Linked DNA regions of Homo sapiens: regions 1 and 2 are each linked to region 3. Evidence: promoter capture Hi-C in 16 types of primary human blood cells and fetal thymus (Javierre and others, 2016). All regions are on one chromosome and are shown on one strand. Each heading gives the region's core, a stretch centred on a gene start or on the middle of the fragment in contact. The rest is flanking DNA. Distances are from core to core; before and after follow the strand shown. Region 1 overlaps LOC107985323 (a long non-coding RNA gene). Region 2 holds the start of LOC124904521 (a long non-coding RNA gene). Region 3 holds the start of DISP1 (dispatched RND transporter family member 1).

Region 1 (3,808 bases), core at 652-3,151, 290 kb after region 3:
ATAGATAAATTGGACTTCATCAAAATGTCAAACTTTCTGATTGTTAATAAAATGAAAAGGCAAACCACAGAGTGTGAGAAAATAATAGCAATACATATATCTGATAAAGAATTGTACCTGAATACATAAAACATGCCTACAAATAAATACTAAAAAGACAAGCAACTCAGTTAAAATGAGCACAAATCTTGAACAGACACTCCATAAAAGAAGATATATGAATGGCTAATAAGCATGTTAAGAGGTACTCAGCATATTAGTCATTAGGGAAATGCAAATGAAACTACTATGAGCTACCACTTCACACCCAATAGGATGGCTAAAATGCAAAAGACTGACCATATCAAGTGTTGACAAGGATGTGGAGCAACTGGAACCTCATACATAGCTGGGAGAAGTATAAAATGTTACCATTATTTTAGAAAACAGCTTGGTGGTTTCTTTCACAGGTGATATGGTTTGGCTGTGTCCCCACCCAAATCTCATCTTGAATTCCCATGTGTTGTGGGAGGCACCCAGTGAAAGGTAATTGAATCATGGAGGCAGGTCTTTCCCATGCTGTTCTCGTGATAGCAAATGAGTCTCACAAGATCTGATGGTATTATAAGGGAGAGTTTCCCTGAAAAGCTCTTTTCTCTTGTCTGCCACCATCTAAGATGTGACTTTCACCTTCTGCCGTGATTGTGAGGCCTCCCCAACCACATGGAACTGTGAGTCCAATAAACCTTCTTTTGTAAACTGCCCAGTCCGGGTATGTCTTTATCAGCAGTGTGAAAATGGACTAATACAGTAAATTGATATCAGTAGAGTGGGGTGCTGCTGAACAGATACCCAAAAATGTGGAAGCAACTTTGGAACTGGGTAACAGGCAGGGGTTGGAACAGTTTGGAGGGCTCAGAAGAAGACAGGAAAATGTACAAAAGTTTGGAACTTCCTAGAGACTTGTTGAATGGCTTTGCCCAAAATGCTAATAGCGATATGGACAATTAAGTCCAGGCTGAGGTGGTCCCAGATGGAAATGAGAAACTTGTTGGGAACTGGAGCAAAGGTGGCTCTTGCTATGTTTTAGCAAAGAGACTGGTGGCATTTTGTCCTTGCCCTAGAGATCTGTGGAACTTTGAACTTGAGAGAGATGATTTAGGGTATCTGGCAGAAGAAATTTCTAAGCAGCAAAGTATTCAAGAGGTGACTTGAGTGCTGTTAAAGGCATTCAGTTTTATAAGGCAAGCAGAGCATACAAGTTCAGGAAATTTGCCACTTGATAATGAGATAGAAAAGAAAATCCCATTTTCTAAGGAGAAATTCAAGCCCGCTGCAGAAATTTGCATAAGTAACGAGAAGCCAAATGTTAATCCCCAAGACAATGGGGAAAATGTCTCCAGGGCATGTCAGAGGTCTTCATGGCAGCCCCTCCCATCACAGGCCTAGAAGCCTGGAAGGAAAAAGTGGTTTCATGGGCTGGGCTCAGGTTCCCCATGTTGTGTGCAGCTTAGGGACTTGGTCCCAGCTGCTTCAGCTGTGGCTGAAAGGGACCAATGTAGAGCTCGGGCCGTGGCTTCAGAGGGTGCAAGCCTCAAGCCTTGGCAGCTGCCACATGGTTTTGAGCCTGCGAGTGCACTGAAGTCAAGAATTGAGGTTTCGGGAACCTCTGCCTAGATTTCAGAGGATGTGTGGAAACACCTGGATGTCCAGGCAGAAGTTTGCTGCAGGGGCAGGGCTCTCATGGGGAACCTCTGCTAGGGCAGTGCAGAAGGGAAATGTGGGGTCAGAACCCCCACAGAGAGTCCCTCCTGAAGTACCACCTAGTGAAGCTGTGAGAAGAGGGCCACTGTCCTCCAGACCCCAGAATGGTAGATCCACTGACAGCTTGTACTGTGTGTCTGGAAAAGCTGCAGACACTCAATGCCAGCCCATGAAAGCAGCTGGGAGAGAGGCCGTACACTGCAAAGCCACAGGGGCAGAGCTGCCCAAGACCATGGGAACCTACCTCTTGCATCAGCGTGATCTGGATGTGAGACATGGAGTTAAAGGAGATCATTTTGGAGCTTTAAGATTTGACCACCCTGTTGGATTTCAGACTTGCATGGGTCCTGTAACCCCTTAATTTTGGCCAATTTCTCCCATTTGGAATGGCTGTATTTACCCAATGCCTGTATTCTCATTGTATCTAGGAAGTAACTAACTTGCTTTTGATTTTACAGGCTCATAGGCAGAAGGGACTTGCCTGGTCTCAGATGAGACATTAGACTCTGGACTTTTCAGTTAATGCTAAAATGAGTTAAGACTTTGGGGGACTGTTGGGAAGGCATGATTGTCTTTGAAATGTGAGGACATGAAATTTGGGAGGGGCCAGGGGCAGAATGTTATGGTTTGGCTGTGTCCCCACCCAAATTTCATCTTGAATTTCCATGTGTTGTGGGAGGGACCTAGTGAAAGGTAATTGAATCGTAGGGTCACGTCTTTCCTGTGCTGTTCTCATGATAGCAAATGAGTCTCATGAGATCTGATGGTGTAGTAAGGGGGAGTTTCCCTGCACAAGCTCTCTTCTCTTGTCTGCCGCCATGTGAGACATGCCTTTCACCTTCCACCATGATTGTGAGGCCTCCCCAGCCACATGGAACTGTAAGTCCAACAAACCTCTTTCTTTTTTTTTTTTTTTTGAGATGAAGTCTTGCTCTGTTGCCCAGGCTGCAGTGCAGATTGTGCAGTGGCACAATCTCAGCTCACTGCAACCTCCGCCTCCTGGGTTCAAGTGATCCTCCTGCCTCAGCCCCCCTAGTAGATGGGATTACAGGCACATGCCACCATGCCTGGCTAATTTTTGTATTTTTAGTAGAGACGGGGTTTCGCCATGTTGGCCAGGCTGGTCTCAAACTCTTGACCTCAGGTGATCCACACACCTCAGCCTCCCAAAATGCTGGGACTACAGGTGTGAACCACCGTGCCTGGCCTATAAACCTCTTTCTTTTGTAAATCGCCCAGTCTCAGGTATGCCTTTATCAACAGCATGAAAACAGACTAATACAACAGGAAAACATACACCTACCTTATGACCTGGCAATTTTACTCCTACATATTTATCCAAGAGAAAGGAAAACATGTCCACAAAAAGATTTGTAAATGAATGGACATAGTAACTTTATTTCTAATAGCTAAAAACTGGAAACAACCCAGGTGTCCCTCAACAGGAGACTGGATAAATTGTAATATATCCACACTGCAATAAAAAGGAAAACTCACTGATATTATAATATCCTGGAAGCATCTCAAAAAATTATGTTACGTAAAGGAAGACAGATGCAAAATGTTGATTGAATGATTCCATTGATGTGAAGTTCTAGAGCAGCCAAAATCAATCTATGTTGATAGATTACAACAGTGGTTGTCTGAGTTGGGGCAGGGGTAAGGATTGGCAGGAAAGCGAAAGAGGCAACTTTCTGGAGTAAAGGAAACATTCTATATGCTGATGGAGGTAATGGTTACATGGGTGTAGACATTGAAATTTACACTTAGAATGTATCCATTTTATTGTATGTTTAAGAAAAACCCAGTTTACTGATTTTCTTCTCAGATTTCCAGACGTATTGCCTTGACCTCCAAAGAGATTAGATTCACCCCAGGGACAAGGAACTGTGTCCAGACCAGGGGAACTAGAAGCAGACCTGTGGACCCCAGAGAACCTAGATGGTCAACTTTTCTACAACATAGTTTCTCTCTCTGCACTACCAGGTGTTAATGTGCATTTATTTTGTGCTAGGAACTGTGCTAATTAGTTCTATATTCTATATACATTTTAATGCTGGGGGAA
Region 2 (3,563 bases), core at 993-3,492, 260 kb after region 3:
TGGAAATACTTGATTTCTATAAACTTGGTTAGTGGTGCTTCTCCTAACACAAAGATTCTGCCATTAGACTTCCCTCAGGTTGTTGTAGGGACCCGTCACTGGTAAATGTGTGTCACCCACACAGCAGCCACGTTAGAGGAGTGACCACAAATTCTTCTAAATGTCTAGCTTAAGCCCCTCTTGATTCAATTCATCCTGCCTTGACATGATTTACGGAACTAAAGCAAGCACGTGAAGATGGTGTGCTTGGGGTTTTGGTCAGTAGGAGCTAGACTTTTACCCCTCAAGTCTTGGTAGAGGGGGTGCTTTGCATAGATCCATTCCCATTCATTTCCTTTGTGCCCTATGTCTGAGGACATACAGCTGTGAGATGGAGACATAGGAGTGCTCTATGTCCACCCATGTCTTCATCCATCCATTCGTTCACTCAACATTTATTGAGCACCCACTGTGAGCTTAATCCATAGTCCAGGTACTCTGCTCCTTGTGCTGGCCACAGAGCAGTGAGTTAGACAAACATCGCAGGGCCAATGGAAACCACACACTAGTTGGGGAGCGGGTAATAAACAAGTAATCATGGTACAATTTACTTCTACAGTCAAGAGCCCTCTCTCTATGGAAGGTCGTTTATTTATTTATTATTTTTTTGAGACAGAATCTTGTTCTGTCGCCCAGGCTGGAGTGCAGTGGCACCATCTCACCTCACTGCAATCTCTGCCTCCCGGGTTCAAGTGATTCTTCTTCCTCAGCCTCCAGAGTAGCTGGGATGACAGGCGCCTGCCACCGTGCCTGGCTAATTTTTGTATTTTTAGTAGAGACGGGGTTTCACCATGTTGGCCAGGCTGGTCTCGAACTCCTGACCTCAAGTGATCCACCTGCCTCGGCCTCCCAAAGTGTTGGGATTACAGGAGTGAGCCACCACTCCCGACCAAGAAGACAGTTTATTTTGCCCTAATATTGGCTAAGGGAATCTTCCCAGATATTCTAGCAGAGGAGATTACAGACCTTACACTTCTGCTGCAGAAAATCACAAAATTTTTAGACTCTCCCTGGAAAGCTTGGGGCTGCAGCCTTGCTCCTCCCGCCTGTCCCCTTTCTGCAGCCCACCTGCTGCCCAAGGGTGCTGTGCATTCCGTCCTGGGGATCCAGAGGAAAAGGGGCTTTGTGGGGAGAGGAGGCAGGGATAAAGGAAAGTGCTAAGGCCCAGCCAATTCCTCCTAGGCTTGTAAAATTCCAGGGCTGAGTCCAAGTTCCCAAAATAGAAGTGAAGGGAGAGCAAACTTCCTGGCTGTGGTGGAGCCCCTGATGTGTTGAATGAAGCTGTTGGTTTGCAGGGTCTGGGAGGGTGTGTATGGGAGATGGGGGGGTCAGGGGGTGGTGGGGAGGGGCCTGAGTGACCAGAGGTGACCAAGATCCTGGGGGACAGACAGCACCTGGAGTGGTGACCACAGCTGCAGGAGCGGCAAGACTCCCAACACTCCATGCTTGGCGGTCACTTCTTTCTTTAGAAAGAGATATTTTGCTTTCTGTGGGCTTGAGAAAGCAGCAAATGACTGCACAGTCATGGGCTGTGCAGGGCCATTGTGACATGTTTGTCCTGTGGGGGCAGCGAGTATTTGTGGATGTGGGTGGGGGTGTGGACGCTTCGTGTCCACTGGCAGCCTGAAAATGAGGAGCGTGCGCCTGGATGAATGTCTGCTCTAAACTCAACTGCTTGTTTATTCAATGTCCTTAAAAAGGCTCTTAGTTCATCAGCAGTGTATTAAAAGTGTATAGTTCAACAATGAGCTTTTTGTTTAGATATCTTGTTTCGCAGTTTCTTAGGTTCAGTAAACACATTTTTTAAAATGTCTTAATTGTCTCATGAAGATATCTGACACAGTTAAATAAAAACAAGTGTTAGATTAAAAAGCCATGTAACTGCCCAACAGGTTCACCTTATCCATTGCCTAAACAGAGCCGATTAATCAAGACAGGGGAATTGCAATAGAGAAAGGGTAATTTATGCAGAGCTGGCTGTGCAGGAGAATGGAGTTTTATTATTACTCAAATCAGTTTCCCCAAAAACTCGGGGATCAGAGTTTTTAAGGATAATTTGGTGGGTAGGGGGCTAGTGAATTGGGAGTATTGATTGGTTGGCTCCGCAATGAAATGACAGAGCGTCAAAGCTGTTCTCTTCTGCTGAGTCAGTTCCTGGGTGGGGGCCACAGAACTGGTTAGCAGGTCCAGGTGGGGCCATCCAGTTGTTAGAAATGCACCTGAAAACTCATCTCAAAAGGCCAATCTTAGATTCACAATAGTGATGTTACCTCCAAAAGTAACTGGGGAAGTTGCAAATCTTATCACCTCTGGAATAATGGCTGGTAATATTTAGAATTCCAGCCCTTCTCTTCCTGACTTGGTGGCTGGTGGCCTGTCATTTGTTTTATAAGAATAGTTTAGCCTTTTAGGAAGGGCTATTATTTAAACTATAAACTAAATTCCTTCCCAAAGCTGGTTCTGACTATGTCCAGGAATGAACAAGGACCGTTTAGAGGTTGGAAGCAAGATGGTGTCAGTTAGGTCTGGTATCTTTCACTGTCATAATTTTCTCAGTTGTGATTTTTGCAAAGGCAGTTTCAGCCAAGGCAGCCCTGCAGAATGAATGGACAGGAGACATTCGCCTGAATTACCCGGGCATTGACAAGTTCTCTAGGTTCACTCTTGGATTTGCAAATCACTTGCTGTGTGAATTTGGGGCAGTCTCTTCCTCCCAGTGTGCCTCAGTTTCCTTCTTTATTGGTTCATTCTATAAACATGATTTCAGTTGAAACATGCTAAAAGAATTGAAAAAAAAAAATCAAACAGACTGTATGTGCACAACCCTAACACCCAGGGGCTGCCTTCTTGTACTTAACTAGCAGTCCCTCGGGGGTACTGTTAGCTGAAATGCTAGTGAAATGACCGCTCTCCACAGATAAGGAATAGCTGATTGTTCCTCCCAGCCAGCGCTGGATTCCCTGGAACCATTCACATTCTCTTTTCCTCCTTCCTTTGGAATATACAGACATATGCCTAGCATGCTGCCTGGTATGGAGCCAGCTCTCAGCCAACACGTCTGAGTGAAGCTGCATTGGGCACACACCCGCGTGGGGCAGTGTGAGGCTGGCACTGCAGGCCACCCCAGGCAGATGCCTTCCTGCTGGCACTGACTGAAGGCCTGAGGGATTCCCTGGGCAAAGCCAGAGAATCAAATGGCCCCTATATGAGATGTTTTCTCCCATTGGAAACTAAGTCATTTTGTCACTTGTCCCAACCTTCCTCTTCTCAATCTTAAATACAGCTTGTGCCTTTGGCTTACGTATTTCTTTGCATTGGCTCGGCATGGCTCATAAACGTCCAAGGGTAGGGTCATATGTGTCAGACATGCTGCTAGTTTCTCATCCCACAAAGCTTCAATATGAGCTGGGTATGACCTCCCTCTTGGTATCAAGGAGGCTAGTATCAGAGAATTCGAGCAGCTAGTTCAAAGTCAAACAGCTGTCAGGAGCTGGGGCTGCGATTTGAACCTGGGCAGAGAGCAA
Region 3 (3,640 bases), core at 409-2,908:
ACACACCCCCCACATCACACCACATACACACTCTCTTCTTTCCATCCTTTCAAAAATACACCTTGCCGCTATGTGAATCAGTTATTTCAAGTATCACCACAAATGGACTACTAACCTTCCCAATGGGAGAAAACCCAAACGCGTGACCTTTTACTTCACTTAGAGTTGATGTTATGCCCTCTAAGTACAGACTTTCTACACGATATCCATTCCTCATTTTCTTCTACTGTAATCCTATCTCCATATATTGCAATGTATGGCCTTTTGCTGGCAAAAGGAGAAAAAAAGAAAAATGTATGTATTATACCATTCCTTTTTAAAAAGGCAAAGAAAGGGCTTGGTGTGCAAGAGAGTATTTATTAAACACTGGTAGCAAAGAAAACAAACAAAAAATGCAACAGTCCTCATTACTGTAGCTGGTGTTGAAGCTTCTTTCTTCTGGGCCCATTCCATAGTTCCCTGTGACTTCAGTTAGCATCTCAGTTGGTTGGGGTGATTTGCTCAATGCAGCAACCTGAGGGGTATGATCCCTTGTGGTCCTGCCTTTATAGGGTTGTGGTAGCCGTCTATTGCCTTTACATCTGGGTATGGCAGTTCAAGAAAGCACCCTCAAGGATAAAACATGCTATTCATGATGTATTATTTTTCTTTGATGACTAGGACAATCCCCCTAGTCAACCCCATGACTCACTGTTTTGTCTATTCCCTTAGATGACCCCACGGATTCCGTTGCACGGAGTCTCTGAAGTCCAAAATTTTTAAGCATAGGGCACAACGTTCTTCATGATTTGGCCTTGTCTCTTCTCATTATGCTTGCTCTTGCATCTGCCATCTGACACTTTGCTTAACTCCTGGCCAGCTACCGGTACAAGCCAAGCTCTCACTCCATAACGTCCTTCTTCTCTGCATGCCCTTCTCCACTGTGCCTGTCCTTTAACTCTTATTCATCATTTATTTCAGTCTCAATTGAAGAGTCATTATTTCTAGAAAGCCTTCTCCGCCCAGCTCTCTACATTGCACCGTTCCCTACAGCACCACCAGAGTGCCTCTAACACTTGATGGTTTCATTGCTTATATATTTTTGTTTCTGTGCATAAGCCTCCCGAGGGAGCCGCCGCTGTTCGATTTATTCTATAGCTAGTTCCTCGCCCTGAGTGTAAGCCTCACGAGAGTGGGGCTGTCCTCTGTTCGCTCTATCCCCAGCCCCTACAGCAGTGCCTGGTTGTTCACAGGCCTATATAGCAGGTGATAATAATCTGAATAATGAAAGAAGAAACACTGTCTTGTGGCGTGATTTACTTCTGTTTTTACTTATGTCAACTTTTAACTAGATTGTGAGGACAGAGGTCAGTGTCTGAGTCATCTTGTGCCTCACTGGGCTTGGGCAGAATAGACGCTTGGTCAAGCATTTGCACACTGGTCGATGGATACACTAGAAAGAGCAGGAGCGCGAGAGGGAATTTTTTTGGCGCCTGCCTCGCCCTTTCAAGCCAAGCCCCTCTGCCCTCTGCCCCTTGCCAGCCGCCCGTCGCCCGCCGCCGGCGATCCCTCTCCCGGGGAGCGGTAGTCAAGCGAGGCCAGCGGGCCGGGAGCGGGCCGGGAGCGGGCGAGGGGCGGGACTTCCGGTCCCGCTCGCGACGCGGACCGCGCCAGGCGGAAGCCCGGCTCCGGGCCAGCATCCGAGAGCCCGGACTGGAGGTGAGTTCGCAGCCGGAACGTTGCAGGCACTTGTTTCCTCAGTGGATGCCTTTCGGCGCGCCGCCGCCCGGCGCCGCGGGACTGGGAGACCGGGTAGGGACGGGAGAGTCGGCATCTCCCGCGCGTGTGGAGGGAAATCCGGGACCCCAGGCTTGAGAGAAGGGCCAGGACTGAGAACGGGGAACCAGGAGAGCCCTAAGGGCAGCCTTTAGGGACTGAGGAGGGAGGCACCGGGGACCCTGAGGCCAAAGAGGCCCTGAGACTGGAGGTTGCGGATGACACGGGGCAGAGTTGCATCTCGGAGGAAAGTAGTCATTCGTGGGGGCGTGTCCCGGGTCCTGGCGGATTGACTGAGAGGATGGCAGGAGATGGCAAAGGTTGGCTTCCAGGGAGAGGTTACAGAGGAGGGAGTCAGTCCTTCTCTGAGGGTCGTAGGTGAGAAGGACGTCTTGACCTAACGAACCAGAAAGATGACCAGCCACCTATTGGATGCTGAACTCCTATTGCTTCATTTGCAATTCATGCAGTTTGTTTTTTGTTTTTAGAAATATATCCCGCTCCGCGCGTGTGGATTTCGGGAAAATATTGTATATTCCTAGGGACCGCTCGAATTCTTGCTTCACCCAGATTCTGCGTGTCTTTGTCAAACTGATAGTAGTTGAGAGTTCTCTTCACCCAAGGAAGACAACCAAAGTTTTCCTTTTGGACTCTTCTCTACCCTGCAGAGTTTAGCTTGTCTTATTTCCCTTGTCATGGGATGAACTAAATGCGTTCAGAATTATGGTGATAATCACATGGAAAGCCAGTGCTGTCAATGTTTGCAGTTTCAACTCATTGTTTTTCTGTCCAACTTTCTAACACATTTTTTCTAAAAGCTATTTTGTTGGGTTTAGTCTTTTAGTTTAACCAATAAAGGCAATTTTACATCAGGGTGCAGCAAATTACTAGCAGTTCTTAAGATTTTACTGTTCCTTTTTATTTCTGCTGTAAGGAAATATATATATATATATATATATATATATATAAATATTTGCCATTGTCAGTGTTTTTTAAAAATATTGATAACCCAAGATCTGTTGTTACACGCACATTAGCACATTTAGTTTTCCCCAGTGGCCAGTGTTTGGTATGTGGGCTCATTATTATTACCAAAGGTAATTATTGATTTAGTTATTATTTACCTTGCATTTATGTTTTATTGGATGTGATTAATATGTGCTTCCTAATCTACATAATATAGTGTTTCACTCAGTGTAATTACAAAGATTCTCCTAGCTTTTAAGTAGGTAGTAAGTGAATTGGATTTTTGCCACAAAGTGAGCAAGGTAGCTAGGAAGAATCATAACACTGTCACTGATGGAGGGTGAGATCTGATGATTGCTTTGCTTGTTTCAGGTGTTTCACATTTCAAATGTTAGAAGTTTTTGTTTTAAAAATTACTGTATTAGTACAGGTAACTTTTAGATCTGATTTGGTGGTCTGACTTGAACTAATTCAGGAAAACTAGAACATTTTATATTTATTGGTACTGCGATATCTTGCTAGCTTATAAATTCTTGATGGCCTTGAATATCTGTGCTTGAGTGAAATACACAGTTATAACGTCCTTATGTTTAGGAGGACTGCTGATATTTACAAGTGTAAAGCAAGGCCTAAACATAAACAGTGCCTTAACATGTAAATGAGCATATTGAATAAGTTTTCAAATTACAAAATGAAGAGATAACACTGATCTCTAAAGTAATTGAATTAACTGCCATGTTAATTTCTGTATATGTCTCAATTTAATCTTATTTGTTTAAGTAGACAATATTGTTTATCTGATAAGACTTGATTTTATTTTTCTTCCGCCTTTTCCCATGGTTTTTGAGAAATAAAGCACTTGAGAAAGCATGCAAGTCTTTAGACATTAGTTCATGGTTGGAGGAAGTGCTCGTTGTTG

What was found. The method cuts DNA at HindIII sites, captures the fragments that hold promoters and counts their contacts. A CHiCAGO score of 5 or more calls a contact.
Region 1: a fragment that was not itself captured here is called in contact with the fragment with the promoter of DISP1 in region 3 in 2 of 17 cell types (endothelial precursors and megakaryocytes); the score reaches 6.4 in endothelial precursors.
Region 2: a fragment that was not itself captured here is called in contact with the fragment with the promoter of DISP1 in region 3 in 5 of 17 cell types (endothelial precursors, megakaryocytes, total B cells and 2 more); the score reaches 9.4 in endothelial precursors.

Annotation. Positions count from the first base shown.
Region 1 is chr1:223,099,012-223,102,819 of GRCh38, forward strand. All of the region lies in intron 1 of LOC107985323 (a long non-coding RNA gene), which reads right to left. Among named protein-coding and RNA genes, the nearest start is that of TLR5, 42 kb to the right of the region's middle. The HindIII fragment of the contact is 4,316 bases long and covers 1-3,808 here.
Region 2 is chr1:223,073,473-223,077,035 of GRCh38, forward strand. It overlaps LOC124904521 (a long non-coding RNA gene), which reads right to left and starts at 1,521. Exons shown (of 2, transcript XR_007066891.1): 1 at 1,434-1,521. The HindIII fragment of the contact is 2,375 bases long and covers 1,056-3,430 here.
Region 3 is chr1:222,813,381-222,817,020 of GRCh38, forward strand. DISP1 (dispatched RND transporter family member 1) reads left to right here and starts at 1,659. Exons shown (of 9, transcript NM_001377229.1): 1 at 1,659-1,698. RefSeq lists an enhancer at 1,050-1,109 and silencers at 1,350-1,429, 1,520-1,619. The HindIII fragment of the contact is 6,781 bases long and covers 427-3,640 here.